2 separate regions of the Homo sapiens genome follow, and region 1 is linked to region 2. Evidence: promoter capture Hi-C in human tissues and cell types (Jung and others, 2019). All regions are on one chromosome and are shown on one strand. The core of a region is centred on a gene start or on the middle of the fragment in contact, and the rest is flanking DNA. Distances in the headings are between cores, read along the strand shown. Region 1 overlaps EPB41L2 (erythrocyte membrane protein band 4.1 like 2). Region 2 holds the start of AKAP7 (A-kinase anchoring protein 7).

Region 1 (4,431 bases), core at 1,636-4,135, 210 kb before region 2:
GGTGTGAGCCACCATGCCCGGCCACTAGTTCTATTTTTAATTTTCTGTGGAACTTCCACACTGTTTTCCAGAGTGGTTGTATCAGTTTACCTTCCTACCCATAGTACACAGCATCTCCAGTCTCTCCACATCCTTGCCAACACTTGCTATTTTCTATTTTCATGAGAGTGGAGATCCTTATAGGTGTGATATAACACACACGTAATAAATAGCAGTTAATGTCTACATATACGGAGGCTATACAGATAAGTAAGTCATGGCCTCTACCCTCGAGGAATTCATAGAATAATGGGGAGAAAGAGTAACAAACAAGGTGTGTACTAAATGTGTAGATGACAGACAGAGGGAATTGCCAACTCCTACATCCAGTAGGCAATTAAGAATATGAGTCTGAGATTCAGTGAAAGCTGAATTGACATAAATTGAGAGTTGTCAAAATAAAAAAACAGTATATCCTACTATCTAAATAAATACTACTAAATACTACCTTTTCTTATGCAAAACTAGTATTTCAAAAATATCAGATTTCTTTTCTTTTTTTTTTTTTTTTGAGACAGAGTCTCACTCTGTCATCCAGGCTGGAGTGCAGTGGCGTGATCTTGGCTCACTGCAACCTTTGCCTCCTGGGTTCAAGTGATTCTCCTGCCTCAGCCTCCCGAGTAGCTGAGATTACAGGTGCCCACCACCATGCCCGGCTAATTTTTGTATTTTTAGTAAAGACGGGGTTTCACCATGTTGGCCAGGCTGGTCTTGAACTCCTGACCTCAAGTGATCCGCCCGCCTCGGCCTCCCAAAGTGCTGGGATTACAGGCATGAACCACCACGCTTAGCCCAGATTTCTTAATGTAGTATATCCTATGCCTACTAAGAGAACATGTTATTCTACATATTGTACAACATACTGAATTGTCCCTCTACTTTACAAAGATTATATTATATGCTCCTATGAATCTACCAGTATGTGATCTCAAAAAAAGGAGGTAATCCTAGCCAAATTCCCACCACTTTCTCTTTTGCAGCTTTTAGGACAAACAGAAGAGCACATAATTGGAAACATTATCAAGACCACCTTATAATTTACAGTCTAAAAAACCTAGTTTATTCAGTCAAATGTGCTATTACGTCTGAAAACAGTACTCTAAACAGAGTTCTATTAAGAATACTCATGTAGTATTCAGCAGGCAGGCATGTAATTTAACTGTCTTTAGTCTAAACAAAGAATTAAACCACAAATTAGATATCAAGTATTTAAAGCTAAGCAAGTTGAGAAAACTTAAAGTATATATAATTATCACTCTTATTATCTTATATTTCATTAGTAGGACATGTAAATACTAACAACGATAGCAATGTAGGCAAATAAAATTCACACTTCTGTTCTTCTATTGATTGCTCTGTTCTGCTGACTGTGATTTGAATGTTAGATCATGGAGAGTAATCCCTTTCACTGTGACCAAGTGTTCTTGGTATCCTCAGACAGAATCGTTCCAATGTGCCGCCTTCCCTGCCTTTCAGGTATGCTTTAATACCTAGCATACAGGTGACTGCACAATATGAGCAGATGTGACCAGCTTCTTTACTTATTTAGTACCGAAAGGCCAGACTGAGTGATTGAGAGCCAAAAGTGATTAAAATAATACCATTTATTCTGTGTTCTCTTTATGCCAGAACATCACTTTTCCACTGATGACATTCTATTCTGTCTGCTCATGATGTAAGTGCAAAGCATGTACACATATGCATGCACACACACAAATACACATACACCAAAAAGCTACAGGTGGTTTCTCTCTACACAAGATAGTTTTTCAGTATTTACCAAATTTCACAGTGAAGTCATAATAAACACCTAAGTTATTTTAAAGCTAAATTTTAAACTGAGATAAACTGGTTAATAAAAAAATACAATATGTTCTAAAAAGATAAAAATAAACTTGAAATCACTTACTTTCTGCTCAGGGCTTTCCTGAAACAAAAGTCCAAAGTAGTCTTTCTCCAAGAGATTGAGGTGTTCACACACTTTGTCAAATAACACTTGTCCCTTGGCATGTTTCTGGAGAAAAAATAATAACTTTACTTTTCAAGTACTAAAGATTCCAAGACTGCTATAAATTTAAGACATCATATCAGATACATGATTTATTATAAATTAACATTAAATATTTGTTTTCTCATTTTCTAACAATATAAAAGTGATTAATTTTTTAACTTTAGCCCTCCCACCCTGCACACATATACAAAGCATAAAATCTGAAACAAAAGCATAAGCAAGCACCGTCTGCTTTACTGCTACTCAATATAGACATAAAAAGGACGAAAAAGGCGAAATGTTAGCTGTTCATTTTCTTATTTCAAAAATGTTCAAACTGCTTCCATCAATTCCTCAAGGTGGCTCATATCTATAAAGTACACTACTCCCCAGGAAAATCATTTAGCCCTATTATTCAGTAGATCCTAACATAATTTATCCTATCAACACTTTGGTTTCATGTTTGATTTTTTGTTCCATGATATCTGTAGAATAGAATTTTATTTTCTATATGAGCTATGCTCCTATTTACAATTTCCTAGAAAATGATATGGTGTTCGCTCCTTGGGATAAATTCTAAAAATACAAGATAATGGAAGTGGGACAAGAAATCAACTGCCCCTAAGGACTTAACATATTTTTACCTTGAATATATATATATAAATTTAAGAAGCTGCTGTGAACAGAGATGTAAGAGCCTTTGACAGCCATAGAAGAAAAGCTCATTGTCTCTTCAATGGCAAAACATAAGCAGAGTGGTGACTCATCTCCAATTAAGATGCACACCCCTGGAACAACCCAACTGTGAGGTCAGGTCAGACACACGCCTCCTCCCCAGGTGCACTGATAAAAGCCACCAATGCACTGCTAGTGAAAAAGAAAAAGCCATCAGACTTTTCCATCCTCAAAACGAATGCCCTCTCACTATCAAAATGTGTACTAGCTCATCCAGTGTGTGAAAATTAATGTTCCCCACACATGTATCTTGAGGAGGAGAATCTGGTATTTTTATTATTAAGCCTCTTATGGTAACATTTCTGAAAAGAATAGAATTGCATCAAATTGTAAAGGGAAGAAGGAGAATGCCACACAGATAACATTATTTCAACATAATAAGCAGTGTAAGGCCTGGCATGGTAGCTCACGCCTGTAATCCCAGCACTTTGGGAGGCTGAGGCAGGCATATCTCTTGAGCTCAGGAGTTCAAGATCAGCCTGGGCAACATGGTGAAACCTCATCTCTACAAAAAATACAAACGTTAGCCAGGTGTGGTGGCGTGTGCTTGTAGTCTCAGCTACTCCGGAGGCTGGGGTGGAAGGATTGCTTAAGCCTGGGAGGCTGAGGCTGCAGTGAGCTGTGTTCACGCCACTGCAATCCAGGCTGGGTGACAGTGAGACCCTGTCTCAATAAATAAATACATAAATAATAAAAAATTTAAAAATAAAACAATGTGTCACATACATATTACAGGTTTGCAATGAGGATTTAATAGTCAATTAAATTACTGAGCATGTTTAAGATAGATATGTGCTTGTTTGTCTACATATTAAAAGTATATACAAATACAGCATAGAGAATAAGAGTATTGGGCTCTGTATGTCAAACACCAAAGTTCTAAATACACTTCCACTACTTACAAGCTATGTGACCCATGGCAAGACACTTAACGTCTGCTTGCCTTAATCTGCTCATCTGTGAAATGGGGATAACAGATAGCAGATACCACAGGAGGTGCGGTGAGTACTAAAAGAGTTGCAGTACATAACAATTGGTTATGATGCTATTTGAAATTAGGGTAAAAAGGATATTTAAGACAACTGATGTCTACAAAAATACACCTCAGTTCAAGGAGAAAACACGTTCCAATTCCAACACTAGCTTCAAGTCAACTCTTACTAATAATTCACATGTTCTCATTGGTTTCCATTTCAAAAATAGGAACATGCCCTCATGGGCAGAATTTCCTTACAAGATTAAGAGGAAAAAACATCCACACAGCTCACCACTACAATTTGGCAGTACATGAGGTATCAGCATGATGGCTGGACCAGTTCCTCTATCGGACCTAGTTCCTCTATCATTCAACATTTTGTAAGCATTTACTATTACTGCACCGCACCAGTGTGACAAAGTAAAACCACTTAAGTCTCCCTGTCTGTAAAATGAGGGTAATAGCTACCTCAGAGCTCACGTGAGAATAAAATTAACCCAGTGAGATGGAATATGCCTCAACCAACCATAGCAGTACTCTACTGTCAACTATTCCTTCACTAGTCCACATCTAACAAACACCAAAATGTTTCTAGATGCTAAAGCTGCTTCTCTACTATTCTTTCCTTCTCTCTCCAGGGAACAGATATTCTCAATGCTTGATGAGATCCTGATTGCACATACACATTACT
Region 2 (4,101 bases), core at 1,602-4,101:
TGAAAAGCCTGAGCCAATTATTTTCTAGAATGTCACACATTCTGGATTGGTCTGATTCTTTCCTCATCATGTTATTTTACTTGTACCTCTATCTCCTGTATTTCTGGAAATCTGAAAATTATATTTAAAGCCTTAGCAGCTTCAGGTGAAATATTTATGGCAAGACTACCTTGCAGTGATGATATAGCTTTCACAGGAGCTTTCACAGATTGTCCACCATTAATGATGCTGAGTTTAATCACGATAAAGGTGGTGACAACCAGGTTTATTTACATGGAGTAAAAATATGTTCTCTCCTGAGCAATTACCAAGTATTTTGTGGGGGGTAGTATTTTGGCAACTTATAAATATTTCGGTCCACATTAACCTTTCATGTAATGGTTTTAGAATATATTGATGATCTTTGCATCAATCAGTTATCAGTTGTGGTGGCAAAATGGTAATTTTCCAATTATTTTATGTCTCCTATATTTATTATTGAAAATTCTTCTGTGCAAAGCAGCTTTCCCATACTACTACTTCTAAAAAGTCATGGTAAATCTTTCTTTCCCTTTAATTTTTAGAGTAAGGAGACTAAGGAATTGCGTACTTGTCACCTTTAATGGTGGCCTACTAGTTTTTCTTCCTCATTTTTTGAGTATTATTATGGGTATATAGATTTTGTATTCAGTATGTTACAATAATTACAGGTGTTATCCTTTTATGATGTCAGATTATCTCCCATTTGCTCAAAGAAAGCTGTTTCTCGCTAGTCCTTGTGTTTTTGATAGTCCCCATTTGTCTTTGCTTTTTGGCACAAGAAGATGTCCAAGGTTCACCTTGTACTTCCCTTTCTCCCTGTCATTTCTAAAAGAAGCTCTGTGAAAAATTCCTTTTTCAGACTTGGGTAATTAAAATGTTCCTCCACATGGTAGGTGTTGATAAGACTCTGTATTCATAATACTGGTGGTGAAAAATATGTGGCATTTGGGCTGTTACCTCTGCTTAGGTAAGAGAATGAAACTTCCATATATCTCTTGGTACACACCACAGGGGAAGAAAAATCTTTCTCCTGCCCATTTAGTTCACTAGGTTGGACTGTGTAAATTAAATTGACAAAAGACAGATTAAGACGAGAAAAGGATTATTACACATGCACATAGATGCTTCACAGGAAAGAACTAAAAGCCCGAAGAGGCAGTTAGAACTGGGGGCTTCTATACCATTTTAACGATGATAAAGTGTGGAGAGGCTAGACAAAGGAAAAGGGGGCTTAGCCTTTTTGCAGTATGGGAAGGTTACTAGAAAATGTATGGGTTTGTTATGCAGGTAAGACTCATTCTCCTCTTTCTGGTATGGGTGAGTGGTAAAGCTTTGTTGTTTGTTTGTTTGTTTGAGACAGGATCTGGCTCTGTTGTCCACACTGGAGTGCAATGGCATCATCTCAGCTCACTGCAACCTCCACCTCCTGGGCTCCAGCGATCCTCCCACCTCAGCCTCTGGAGTAGCTGGGATTACAGGCATGGGTCACCACGTCTGGTTAATTTTTGTATTTTTGGTAGAGACAGGGTTTTGCTATGTTGCCCAGGCTGGTTTCAAACTCCTGGACTCAAGTGATCCACTCGCCTTGACCTCCCAAAGTGTTGGGGTTACAAGCGTGAGCCACTGGGCCCGGCCTGGTAAAGCTTTAAAAATAAAAATTTATGTCACCTTTACGAAGGGAAATTTATGTCCTGCTTTTAGGCAGAAAGGGGGAGGTCAAAGTTGTTCCTGAGTCTTTAGTTTCTGAACTGTTTTAAGCTCAAGAATAATCCTTATGCTGAAGTGGCATATTTGGGGTGGCATATTCTCATCCTCTTCACTATGAATGTGGACCACATTTTTGCAGCTTTTATTTCCGCAGTTACTTATGTTTCTTTCTCTGCTATTATATGATCAGCTCCATAAGTAAAAGACCTGTCTTACCTGCACATCCTCAGCACAGAGCTCAAGCATTAAATAAATATTAGGGGAACTGGTTGTACTTTCCTACCAGCCCATAAATGGGCATCAGAAACTCAACGTGTTAGAATTATTTGAAAATCAGAGTAACTAGTTTGCCGACTTCTAGTGTGCAGCCTTTACGCCAGCTGTTGTGGCTGTGTAGGGGTCTTCTTTTCTTCCATCCCTATTCTACGATGCATTCAACATAAGCGAAGTGTTATTATTCACGAAAGGCGCTAATTTGTGGACGGATGCACCTAATGTTCTTAACCCCTGGTTTCTTCGCACTAAAACCAATCCCAATAGCATTCCGTTTCAAGTGAAAGGTTTTTATTTTTTTAAACTAAGTAAATTTCTTTTTCTCCCAATTTACTCACTGCAGTACCTTATACTACAAGAACCAGCAACTGGTTTCCTCTTAATGTCTAAACATAACATCATTGTTAAAAATTAGAGACTTTGTCACAATTTGCAGTTTTTAAAAGTAAGGTAAATAAAGTATCTCATTATACAGAAGTACAAGGTCTCGTTCTTGTACATTTCGCTCTTCCCAAATATTCTGCAATCAGAACCCTGATTGCAAAACTAAGCACATGGATTCTCAAAAGACACCAGGCCAGAGAATTCTTTCATCCTAGTCCCAATCTCGCCCTTGAAAGCGTGGGAGGGGCAAGGCTGCGCCACGGGAAATAAATGAGGGCTGCCAAAGGCCGTCGGAGGCCGCGGGGCTCGGCAGGCAGGCGAAGACCCAGCGTCGCATTGCAGAGTCGAGACGACCTGGGCTGCCGTGACGCCGCAGTCGCCGGCCCTAGTTTCCCCCGCCCTGCCCGAGCGCGTCCGCGCCTCTCGCCCGAATCCGGGTACCACCGGCGACTCGGGTCGGCCCCTTCTGGCTTGTTCCGGCGTCCGGCCTGGCATGCGGGTGCTGCGGCTGCTGCGGCTGCCGCCGCCGCTGCTGCCGCTGCCGCGGGGGCTGCGGCTTGGGAAGCTCCGCGCTTCCGCAGGCCTGGCCTCCGCCGCCCGGGCCCCCGCAGCCTGTCGCTGGACCCCGCGCCGGCCCAGCGCACCGCCCTCAGGCCCCGAGCCCCGCCCTGGCCTCCGCCTCGGCCTCGCCTCCAGCCCCGGGACGCGGCCCGCCACCGCCGCTGCCGCCAGCCCAGACGCGCCGCCCGCATGCGCCGCGACCATGGAGCGCCCCGAAGCGGGTGAGACCGGGCTGTCCAGCGGGCCGGGGCGGGGGCGACAGGAGCCGCGGGGGCCTGGGCCTGCTCTGCGCTCGAACTTTGGGAGGGCCTGACCCGCGCCGGCCCTTCTCCGAGTCTCCCTCCTTCCCAAAAGGACTCAGGGTAGCACCGAGAAGCCCGGTGCAACCGGGGTGTACATCAGTGCTGCCTGTAGCGAAGCGTTTTAATGCACGCATTGTGGGTCCGACAGGAGGCGGGGGTATGAGCCCATCCCCGAGTTTCACTTTTCTTTCTCCCTTTCTCATCCTGTGACCCTTTGCACAAAGTTCATGCCAGTACACATTCCTTCCGACGGTGTTGATGTGGGTAAATGTAAACAAAACCTAGTAAAATTTCGATTTTATCTTATATCACAAATATTAAGCACCCGAACCACCATACTGTCTCATTTAGGATTTTCTGCCAGGTTTGGACATGACCGCTTTTAAAACTGGCGCCAAGTCTACACTAGCGCCCGGAATGAATTTCCAGTTTAGGTCAGCGTTTGTTGTGAACTGAACTTTGTGATAGAGCGAGTTAGGGGTGGACTTTCGGTAAAAGGGTCCGCAAACCAATTAGAGAAAAGGTGCTCCTCTGCAAGAGTTTCATAGGATAAACTCATAGAAGAGTATAAAAAGCATAAAAACGTTAAAGTGTACTATATAAATAGCAGTTAATCGTGTGAATATGTTGACAATTGTTAAGTGAATGATGACAGTGAGTTTTTGCATTTAGGAAATGCATGGGAATGGAAATTGTTAAGGAGAAAAGAGCCATACTCCAGTTCCTTGTTTAAGTGCCGTGGCTTTGCAATTCAGGATCCTGTTAGCATATCTGTATATTTTCCTTACTCATAAAGTTTAAGATGTTTGTGGAGGTTACTTCCTCCTTTCATCCATTTTCGGACACTATTAAC

The links. The method cuts DNA at HindIII sites, captures the fragments that hold promoters and counts their contacts. A contact is called where the count stands out against the background at its distance.
Region 1: a fragment that was not itself captured here is called in contact with the fragment with the promoter of AKAP7 in region 2 in 2 of the 25 tissues and cell types used here (dorsolateral prefrontal cortex and hippocampus).

The regions. Positions count from the first base shown.
Region 1 is chr6:130,924,657-130,929,087 of GRCh38, forward strand. EPB41L2 (erythrocyte membrane protein band 4.1 like 2) reads right to left here. Exons shown (of 20, transcript NM_001431.4): 4 at 1,949-2,053. Among named protein-coding and RNA genes, the nearest start is that of SMLR1, 99 kb to the left of the region's middle. The HindIII fragment of the contact is 7,412 bases long and covers 1-4,431 here.
Region 2 is chr6:131,132,616-131,136,716 of GRCh38, forward strand. AKAP7 (A-kinase anchoring protein 7) reads left to right here and starts at 2,852. Exons shown (of 8, transcript NM_016377.4): 1 at 2,852-3,167. The coding sequence starts at 3,149. RefSeq lists enhancers at 2,483-2,983, 3,420-3,479 and silencers at 2,810-2,899, 3,050-3,159. The HindIII fragment of the contact is 8,304 bases long and covers 1,508-4,101 here.